Linked DNA regions of Homo sapiens: all the other regions are linked to region 1. The links are contacts of gene promoters, found by promoter capture Hi-C in blood cells and fetal thymus (Javierre and others, 2016). All regions are on one chromosome and are shown on one strand. Each heading gives the region's core, a stretch centred on a gene start or on the middle of the fragment in contact. The rest is flanking DNA. Distances are from core to core; before and after follow the strand shown. Region 1 holds the start of MROH9 (maestro heat like repeat family member 9). Region 2 has its middle 22 kb from the start of KIFAP3. Region 3 overlaps LINC01681 (long intergenic non-protein coding RNA 1681). Region 4 has its middle 120 kb from the start of GORAB.

Region 1 (2,605 bases), core at 38-2,537:
CTCTACCTCACACTATATACTAAAACTAATTCAGAATGAACCAAAGACCTAAATGTAAGGCAAAAACTACAAAACTCTTAGAAAAGTTCTAAATCTAATCTCTGTGAAGTTGGGCCAGGGAATGCAGGCAATGTCTTTTTCTTTTTTTTTAGTTATGATACCAAAAACACAAGCAATAAAAGAAAAAGAATGGCAAATTTAAATTTCACTTAAATTTAAAACTTTTGTGCTTCAAGAGACACTGTCAAGAAAATGTAAAGGCAGCCCATAGAAAAGGAGGAATATTTGCAAATTATGTATCTGATAAGAGACTAGCATCTAGAACATATTAAAAAATCACAACTCAGTAATAAAAATCCAAACAGTCTAATCATAAAAAGTCACATATTGTATAAATCTATTTACATAAAATGTCCAGAAGGCAGACAGAAGATTAGTGGTTGCCAGGTACTTGGGGGAGAGGGAGGGTGAATGTCTGCTAACAGGTACAGGGTTTCTTTGGAGCTTGTTCTAAATGAAAATGTTCTAAAATTAGATAGTAATGATGGTTGTATACCTCTGTAAATATATTTAAAATGATTGAATTATATACTTTAAGATAAATTTTATGGTATGTGAATTATATTTTAATAACTCTATTATAAAAAGTGCTACAATAAACATCCTTCATGTCTCTCAGTGCATCAGTTGTATACATGTTTATACACTCTATGGACCTAGAACTGGAAATTCTGGGTTGTAGATTTTCAGTTTTGCTAGAACTTGACAAGTTTCTCTACAAACTAGTTATATCCATTTATAATCCCACCAGTCGTGTGAGAAAGTTCAACTTTCTTTTATCTTTGCCAATATTTGAAATTATCTTTTTTTAATTTTTACTTGTATTTTAGTACTTTTTAACTTATTAGCTGGGAAATAATATTTTAATGGTTTGTATTTTCATAACTTCAAGTGAGATTAAAAATCTTTTAAAATATTTATTGGCCATTCAGTTTTCCTTTTCTGTGAATTTTCTATTCTTATCCTTTGCCCAGCTTCTACTGGACTGTTGGTCTGAAGAACTATCTTTCAGTGCTTGTAACATAGAAACCAGAAACTTACCCACCCCTCAATAATGACAGGTGAGCATTAGTAGCCACTTGGGCATGCCAGGACATTCTACCACATTCATTCCAGAATGGAATCTTTGAAACATATGGTTGCCATGACGAGTGTCAACATTTCAAAGAATTTGCTTGGTTGATAACTACCTAGAGTATTTTACCTTTGGCTAAGAGGTAATATACTAGAGTTTCTCTTCACTACTTTGTCTCACCGTGATTACAGAGAAGTTACAAATATGTAAGTGAATTCCTATTAATATTTCTGTCATTCAAAAGCTTGTCTTTTTTTCTAATCCTGACTACTTTTCTTAATTTTTGTTCTGTTAAGAAAAAGAACCATGAATACATTAGAAAATTACGTTATGGCCCAGGTATGGTGGCTCACACCTGTAATCCCAGCACTTTGGGAGGCTGTGGGCGGATCATGAGGTCAGGAGGTCGAGACCACCCTAGGCAACTTGGTGAAACCCCATCTCTACTAAAAATACAAAAATTAGCTGGGTGTGGTGGCGGGTGCCTGTAATCCCAGCTACTCAGGAGGCTGAGGCAGGAGAATCACTTGAACTCGGGAGGTGGAGGTTGCAGTGAGCCGAGATCATGCTACTGCACTCCAGCCTGGCAACAGAGTGAGACAAAAAAAAAAAAAAAAAAAAAAAAAAGAAAAGAAAAAGAAAATTACATTACTATGGGCCCTCATCCAGAAATCTTGCCAAAGTTGGCAATTGGAAGAATTTGTCTTTATTCATTAATCTCCTAACTTCATGCCTTACTAGTAAGGATTATCTTATTAGTAAGGATGAGAGAAACCACAACTATATAGATAAATATATTTATTATAAGGTATTGGTTTACACAATAATAGAAGCTAGGAAGTCCTGGATTCTGCTTTCTGCAAGACAGAGACCCAGGAGATCCAATGGTGCAGTTTGAAGGCCTGAGAGCAAGAGAGTTGATGATAAAAATTCCAGCCTGGTTCTGAGGATCTGAGAACCAGAGCACCGAGGGCAGCAGATTTGTGTCCCAAGTCAAGTAGTCAGGCAAAGAGAAAACTAAGCATTCTTCTGCCTTCTTGTTTTATTCAGGCCCTCAATGGATTGGAAGATGTTGACCCACATTAGGGAGTGTCATCTCCTATCATCAGAACACCAATTTAAATGCTAATCTCTTCTGGAAATACCCTCACAGACATACCCCAAAATAATGTTTACCAGATATCTGGGCATCCTATGGCTCACTCAGTTTGACACGTAATATTAACTAACCATAATGAGTTCCCACGTTGAAAATTTGGCACCCATATACATATCCTTAAGCCATAGTTAATCTCCAAATAAAGTCAATAAGAAGCTCATAATTCCATTTAACATGTTGAAATGTAGTGGGATTGATAAGGAATCAGAGAGACCGATGGGGTTGAGAAGGATATTTATTATTTAGGTGCACCGGCCCAGTTGGATTAACCTCCAAAGGACTGAGCCCTGAACAAAGAGTTATCTTTTAAT
Region 2 (2,605 bases), core at 40-2,539, 840 kb before region 1:
TTTATTTTTTATGAAATTAATTTTCCTGAATGTTTAGAAAATAGCAGCTTTTCTAACTTCACAGACCCTCCTCTTCTGCTGTTTGTGTTTCATCTTAAAAAATATAGCATCTTGCTTTGTGAAATTTCCTAGCTTTGTTCCCGTTCGCCACTTTTATCTGTATTTTTTTTTCCTTTAAAAGAAAGAAAGAAAATATTGTCTATTATCTCTTTGCTGCTAAATGATGCTTCTAGTCTGAGGATTTTCTCTTCAATATGGAGCCCTGTCCTGGAAGGAAACTCTGGTGGATCAGGTTTGAGAGCTCCTAGAGAATAGACTGCTGCAGAGCTGCTGTAAATCAGCAGATAATTTACACTCAGTGAAAATTTGTTGAATGAACAAGCTCTGCTCAGTTTCAGCCATTCTTCTCAGATTCCAAGGATTGGAACTTGTACTTTCCAAGGATTATCTGTTGGATGTTTTGGTTCTTTTGTTCTCAGGACCATCAAATGCCTTGTTACTTCTCCTTGTGGTTGTTAGTAGTTTGTCTCTATCCATTTGTATTTTGAGGTTTGCATGGTATCCTGTTACACAGATTTGTTGGAATTTTGGTTTTGCTGTCTAGTTGCTTGCTCTTTTTAATGTGGTGATCTGGGAAGAAACAAAAAACTGTGCTGCCACTGCCATCTTCCCAGGATACTACAATAGTTAATCTTTTTATAGATGAGAAACCTGAAGCCCAGGGAATTAAAGTTATTTGCCCAAGATTCCACAGCTAGCAGCAGGAGATAACTGTAAGTAAAGCAGCTTAATTAGTGTCTGTTGCAGAGAAACTGATTAATGCATGCTCTTTTCTTTCTCCTTTCTTCCCTCATTCTTCCCAATCCTTCTTCTCTTCCTTCCTTGCTTTCAATTCTCCTTCCCTTTCTCCAGAGCCCATATTTAAACCCAGTTATTTCTGACTTCAAAGCCTCTGCAAATTCATTAAATGTGCTATACTTCTACCCCATACTGTGAAATCACTGGAGTTTTTAATTCAACAGAACTATTGAAACAAAATTAGTTTCACTAAAACTTACACCCGTCTTGCTCTAAGAATGTTTTCTTCTTTGCTGTTAAGCTTATATACTTTTCTAATAAAATCCACAAATGTCAAATTCTTTGACACATGCCTCATCAAAACGTGGCACGTTAGAAATAAATTGATGCCCCTAGTTCAGTGAATCCACTTATAGGCATTATATATAATCCTTTAATTGCCTTCTTTCTTTTTAAAATATCTTCTACCATCACCCAGGAAACCACATTTGACAAAATGTAAATGAAATCTGAACCCGAAAAGGCTTGACTTCACTTCTGAATTTAAAAACCACAGAATTTAAAGATATTTTAAAGTTTGGACGAAGTCAAATGCCCTGCTTTTGAAAAATCTTATAAAACTGCCAGTTAACTATTCAGCTTTGAGACACAAGTCCACAAAATACTAAGCTGCATTAGTTAGGAAGCTTGGCTCCTGATAATACTTGACTGAAACTGATTCATTCAAAAGTTGAATGCACTTTGAAGGCTCCCAAATAATTTATACTGTATACCCTGTAATGTAAAAACTATAATTTACTAATTCTCCACAATCTTCTACAAAAGATTAATTAGAAATTAGATCTTGGGGAGCAGAGTTTTGCTTAAGGTATGAAATCACCACACAAAACCTAAGGGATTCTATTTCCAGCCAATCCCTTTATAAAATCCTGTTCCAGCTTTTGGCTCTGTAATGGATTTCCCAGGTTGGTGATATACCACACAGAAAATGCCATTTCCTTATTTTTTTCCCCCTTGAACTTCCTGCACTAACTGTGCAGGCTTAGTCCACACTGTTTGAATTTACTTATTGTGGTTTGCATAAAATTATCCTTCACTCATCTACACGTAGTAGATAATGGTTATTTGCCTATAAATCTAACAGGTACTAAGTTTTATTTACCCTCCTGCACTGTGGGCATTCTCTGAACAAACGGGCAGTTGTTCTTGAAACATTTTCCATTTTTATGAGTTTTGGAACTGTTGGAACTGTTTGAAACTGCTTGTTGCTTTGTGTGCTTTTTAGCAGCTCGAGGCTCCTTCTTTCACGGTGTTTACTCTGGAGCTGGGGTGAACAGAGGATCTTGGAAATGACAGAGTGTTAATATCCTGGAGTGTGTCTTGCTACATGTAAAAGATTGCTTCTCTAGGCTGCTAAGAGCTGCAGCAGAAGCAGACTTTTCAGGAGACACACAGACAAACACATTTAGTCATGAATGGTTGCACACCTACTCTCACTCTCTCTGATTTTGCATGTGCACGAGCAGGCCAGGAAACCTGACCCCATGTTGATTGGAACGTTGCTTTGCATTTATTTCCAGAATATTTGGAATGGCACATATGTTTCCCATTAACGCTCATGTTTGATTGTTCTAAGTAATTTTTTAAAAATTAAATAAACCTGTATCAAAAATTGTCACTTTGTGTTGAAGAAGCACAATTAGGTCCCTTTGGGGGAGTAAACTGAAAAGAAAGAATGAGATGAAATATTTTGGCTTCTTTATATGTATTTCTGTAAATGAGAGTGGCATTAAGATCTAGTCATACA
Region 3 (2,605 bases), core at 37-2,536, 700 kb before region 1:
AAAATTTCCATTCTGTGTTTTTTTCACTACCTCCATAGTCAGAACTTTATGTCTAAATTTAGATTCCTTTTGCTACATTTTTAGCTCTGCCTACTAGTTGCAATAAAAATTTTCTATGGTCCTAGAGTTTGAAGACCTATAATTTTCTTCTGTATTATCATAACAGTTATTTTTCATATGGAAGTGATCAAAAATACACACAAATTATAATTTTTAAATATCAAAAATAATATTGTATTGGAGATGCTTTTCTTAGCATGATCGGTGGTCAGGTTTTATGGTGCTTTGATTAAATGAGGTGACACAAATATTTCAAATTATTCCTTTGTTTGACATCCCAGAGATTATTACATCGCAAGACAATGCATCGCTCCAGCAAGGATAACAAAGCGAATGGGAAGGAAAGGGTTATGAAGAGTTCATGGAAGGCACCTTAGGCAGACTACTTTTAGGAAAGAGTGGATGTGGAAGCTAAGTATCTGGAAATTGATTTCCTTAGAACAGTTTGTGTTTGCATGTCTTCTGAAAGGTTTTATGTACTCCCAAGAGTAAGTATACCTGTTTGAAGAAGCTGCTCAATATAGTTCTTAAAATAGTCTACAAACATGTTACCCCAGCATAGTAAGAAATAGGAGTACAGCCAGAAATGAGAGTGGGAATGATTAGAGAGACCTCTTTGAGGCCTTGGTCGTGGGCAGGAGCACAGTGGGCCGGGCTCTTTCTAGATGTGCTTTAATCATCAGGAATTCTGATACAATTATATTTTGACTATGATATATAAGCTTCATTTGATTACTGTTGCCAAATATTTTTTGCTCTTCACGAAGTAAACCTCTTTTTAAAACTTTTTAACTGGCAAATAATAATTGCATCTATTTAGGGAGTACATTGTGATGTTTTGATACATGATTACATTGTGGAATGATTTAATCAATCTACTTAAATTTAGTGAAAATAACTTAAGCTATTAATCTCAGCCTTGGTGGCTTCTCCTAATTTATGCTTACACAAGAGGCTATCTTCATTGTGAAATGTCACAGACTCTCACAAGCAAGAGAAGAAAATGTAGAGAAGCCCCTCAAATAAAATGCATTAGGTTAATTCATACCGACAAATGTGACACACTTAAAATTGTTCCTAACATCAGTTCATGATTTATTTCAAAAGTTCTTAATATTCAAAAATGCTCAATAATTTAAAGTATTTCAATGTATATAGCAAATAAACCCTGCTATTAAAACAAAAGAATCAGGTTCATTTCAGAAGAGTGAAAACTAGCAAGATCTTACTGTAAATCAACTGTTTGTTTTCAATTATTTGGCATGAGATCTTACATATTTTTAACCCATGTTTTAATTCTCGTAGATACCCTGTTGCAAAAGTTCTGAAACATTGTGAGAAAAAGTGTTTTTGTAGCACTTTGGCAATGGGAGCCTCACTTCACTCTGTTATGTAATGTCCCATCCAGTTTTTAGTTAAACCTGGAAACACCTTTGTCCTTAGGTGAAGCAGCAAGTCTTGCTTAAGCAAAGCTGGTGAAATCAGAGCCTGGTCCAAGGCTCAGAAGCGTTTGCGGGGAAAAGCAAACACTTTTTGTGGGAGAAGGAAACAAAGGAGAAGAGAGGAGGAGGAAGAAATTGAAAAAGAAGGGGAAGAGAAGAGGAAAAGAAAAAGAGACGTTGAGAGAAAGAAAAACAGAGAGCTGTGTGTGATTGGATGCCATGACTCCTCAGTCTTAGTGCTAATGCCGTTGTTACCTAACTCTATTTAGGGAACTTTCCAGAACAAAGCGAAGCTTTGTGGGCCTGGCTTTCAGAACTTATGCAACAATTGTTTTGGGAGCAGACTGAAAATTTTACAAGAGAACTGAGTTTTCAAGAGACTGACGGTGTGACCAAAAGATCAAAGGTTTGGTGCAGTGGGACTAAGTTTCAGGCAGCCTTTCAAATTGTGAAGACTTTCCTCCCTGTTATGGCAGTTAAGACATGTGAAAATGGTAGTTCGAGACACTTATAAGCAACTTTCTTCTTAGTTCACAATGTTCCATGAATGTCAGTGCCCTCCAAACTCACGAGAACAAAGCAGGCAACCAGGATGATTACTCCCAAATCATTGATAAAAGGAGAGAGAAGTACAGAGATACACAGTGATTTGTGTGGGTTGCCAAAAAGTTGCACGGTCAGTTTGACAACTGTTATTGCCTTCAGGTTGACAAATTGCAAAAGCAGCATTGCTGTGTATGGGTGGGGAGGGAGGAGGAATTGCATGAGTAAGAATGAGATGAGCAATAGTTAGGTGGGGTGGAAATGAAATCTCAACAGTTATTGGGGATTCTGATGTATTTATCAAACCAAAAGACGATCTAAAAGCCATACAATCAGACTTAGATTAGGGCAGTCTGTGATAAGCAAAAGTTAATATAGTGTGTTGTTTTTGAAAATATGGCATGATAATTAATAGCAACTCTTTTTGTATACTTGCTTGGTTAACAGGAGGAAACACAGATAAATTAAATACTGGTTAGCAATCTTTAATAACCAGGAGATGCTTAACATTTATTTAGAAATCTGCAACATTTTATAAATCATTGTTTTGGCTTCTGGGA
Region 4 (2,605 bases), core at 37-2,536, 520 kb before region 1:
CCCAACTCATTTTGTGAAGCTTGTTGTAGCCAAGATATTCTTAAAGAATTATATTGAAAGGACTCACCACACCAGAAATCTTTCCTTAATATAAAATTAATCTAATAAGTAAATATGCTATTGGTACAGATATAAACACATAGCCCAGTGGAATGAAATACAGAGCCCCAAATAAACTCAGCCAAATATGGAAACCTGATATATAACAGAGCTTTTGTTACAGATTAGTGAGGAAAGATTAGACTGTTCAATAAATAGTAGTGGTCCATTTGCCTATTCATAAGAAAAAGAAGATTATATCTCATACTACACAGTCATACAAAATCCATATAGCTCTAGAGAAAAATTTTACAGTTTTAGAAAGAACTAGCAGAATAATTCGTGAACCCAAGGCAGAGAAGGATTTCTTAAACAAAATTTTTAAAATGCTAATTATGAAGAAAAGTAAAGAAATTTGACTATATTAAAATTAGGAACTTTTGAACATCAAAAGGAAACCCCAAAAAAGTAAAAAAGTCACAAATTCATAGACAATATTTACAATACATTATGAACAAAAAGCCTAGAATCTAGAATATAAAAAGAACTCATATAAATAAACAACAGAAAGACAGACCATTCAATTTCTTAGAAGTAGGCAAAATGCATGAATATGCATGTTCATATATTAAAAGAGGAAACAGGAATGGCCTGTCTGAATGTAAAAATGTTCAACTGCATTAATAACTAGGGAAATGCATATTAATATTATGAATGAGATAAAATTTCACACACCCAAATTAGCAAAAAACAAAAACAAAAAACAGTTGGATAAATCCAAGTTTTGGAGAGATTGTGGAGTAATGGGAATATAAATGGTACAGTGACTTCAGGAAACAGTTTTACATTACCTAATAATGTTGAGGTATAATGTTGAAAATACTTATAGCCTATAATGTAAAAATAAATTTATTCTTTTATACTCTGGAGAAAATATTTAATGAATAAGCCAGGAGACATGAATAAACATGTTCATAACAGCAATTTCTGTAAAAACAAATAACTGAGAATACCCAAATATCTATCAGTCAAAAGTAGAAAGTATGAATAAGTTGTGAAATAGTCATATAATGGAATTCCTTACTGCAATGAAAACTAATTAAGTAACATGTATTGATAAGCAATAATTTAACAAAATAGTAAGCAGGAAAAGCAAGTCACAAAAAGCTATATATATATATATATGGTGCCATGTTTTTAAACCTCAACAAAAGCAAAACTAAACATCTCTTAGGGGCATATGCATAAATAGTAAAATTATAAAGAAAAGCAATGGAATAATAAATATTTGGAAGGGAGGCAGGTGCAATCAGGAGGAGCCTATAATGGCTTCAACAACATCAACAGTATTCTATTTCTTAAACTTGATGGTGTACACACAAGTGTTTGTATTATCATTTGTTAAAACTACACACATGCATATATGCAAGAGTTACAGGGATGAAGTTGATTGATGTATTATTTTGTGTGTATTTATTTCAAACGTAATAAATATAGAAAGTAAGAGAGAAGATAAAAGTGTCAAGAATTTAGGATGTATTAATAGAAAGAAGATGTTAAGCTCAGGAGAACTTAGCAGGGCACTTTGCACCAGGACCTGGATAGACAAAAACATGCCAATCAATGACTAAGGGCAGTAAAGAGGTGACAATGAGCATCAAGGTTATTTAGTCCTCTCGGAGAGCAATTTTGAACTGAAGCCAAAAAGGTGTTGAGTAAGGAGCTAAGACAGAAGTATCTAAAGAGAGGCTGAATTTGGCCGGGTGCAGTGGCTCACTCACGCCTGTAATCCCAGCACTTTGGGAGGCCAAGGTGGGCAGATCACAAGGTCAGGAGTTTGAGACCAGCCTGGCCAACATGGTGAAACCCCATCTCTAATAAAAATAAAAATTAAAAAATTAGCTGGGCATAGTGGTGTGCGCTTGTAATCCTAGCTACTCAGGAGGCTGAGGCAGGAGAATCGCTTGAACCCGGGAGGCGGAAGTTGCAGTGAGCCGAGATTGTGCCACTGCACTCCAGCGTGGGCGACAGAGCGAGACTCCATCTCAAAAAAAAAAAAAAAGAGGCTGAACTTAAACTGGAGGTATGGTGAATGGGCAAGAATGACAGTGAGGGTGAAATAAACAAAGTCTTAATTTCAAGAGAAATTGGCATCATCAACAGGAATTTGGGAATTCGGGAACTCTTTCCTGTGGGAAAGCTGCATCAGAACACTGTTGCCTTTTAAGAATCCACTACAAACATTTCTATTCATAAGGGATCAAATTTTATGTTTATGTGGACCTGGAGTGTATAAAACACATTCTCAAGATGGTCTTTTATAGAAATGAAGTAAATAGACTAAATAGTGATATGTGAGTTTTCTCCTCCAGAAGTAGTAAAATAATCTTTCTATAAGGTTTTAGAGGACAGCACAAAAACACTTATTAGACGACCAAAGAGGGAAAATGAGTAAATCACAATCAGAATACTTTCATTCAATGTTTATTTTCAGACAACTATGTGAGTGAGTTTGAAGCTTGGCCCAGATGCTGAATAGACTCATGACCTTGGCAAAGTCACAGCA

Evidence for each region. The method cuts DNA at HindIII sites, captures the fragments that hold promoters and counts their contacts. A CHiCAGO score of 5 or more calls a contact.
Region 2: a fragment that was not itself captured here is called in contact with the fragment with the promoter of MROH9 in region 1 in 2 of 17 cell types (M1 macrophages and M2 macrophages); the score reaches 5.5 in M1 macrophages.
Region 3: a fragment that was not itself captured here is called in contact with the fragment with the promoter of MROH9 in region 1 in 1 of 17 cell types (M0 macrophages); the score reaches 6.8 in M0 macrophages.
Region 4: a contact is called between a fragment that was not itself captured here and the fragment with the promoter of MROH9 in region 1, in 1 of 17 cell types (M1 macrophages). The highest score is 5.5, in M1 macrophages.

The regions. Positions count from the first base shown.
Region 1 is chr1:170,934,247-170,936,851 of GRCh38, forward strand. MROH9 (maestro heat like repeat family member 9) reads left to right here and starts at 1,288. Exons shown (of 22, transcript NM_001163629.2): 1 at 1,288-1,341. The HindIII fragment of the contact is 7,245 bases long and covers 1-1,377 here.
Region 2 is chr1:170,095,743-170,098,347 of GRCh38, forward strand. No RefSeq gene overlaps it. Among named protein-coding and RNA genes, the nearest start is that of KIFAP3, 22 kb to the left of the region's middle. The HindIII fragment of the contact is 385 bases long and covers 1,098-1,482 here.
Region 3 is chr1:170,237,407-170,240,011 of GRCh38, forward strand. The region is part of intron 2 of LINC01681 (long intergenic non-protein coding RNA 1681); the gene reads left to right. Among named protein-coding and RNA genes, the nearest start is that of LINC01142, 45 kb to the right of the region's middle. The HindIII fragment of the contact is 1,013 bases long and covers 781-1,793 here.
Region 4 is chr1:170,412,609-170,415,213 of GRCh38, forward strand. No RefSeq gene overlaps it. Among named protein-coding and RNA genes, the nearest start is that of GORAB, 120 kb to the right of the region's middle. The HindIII fragment of the contact is 2,538 bases long and covers 18-2,555 here.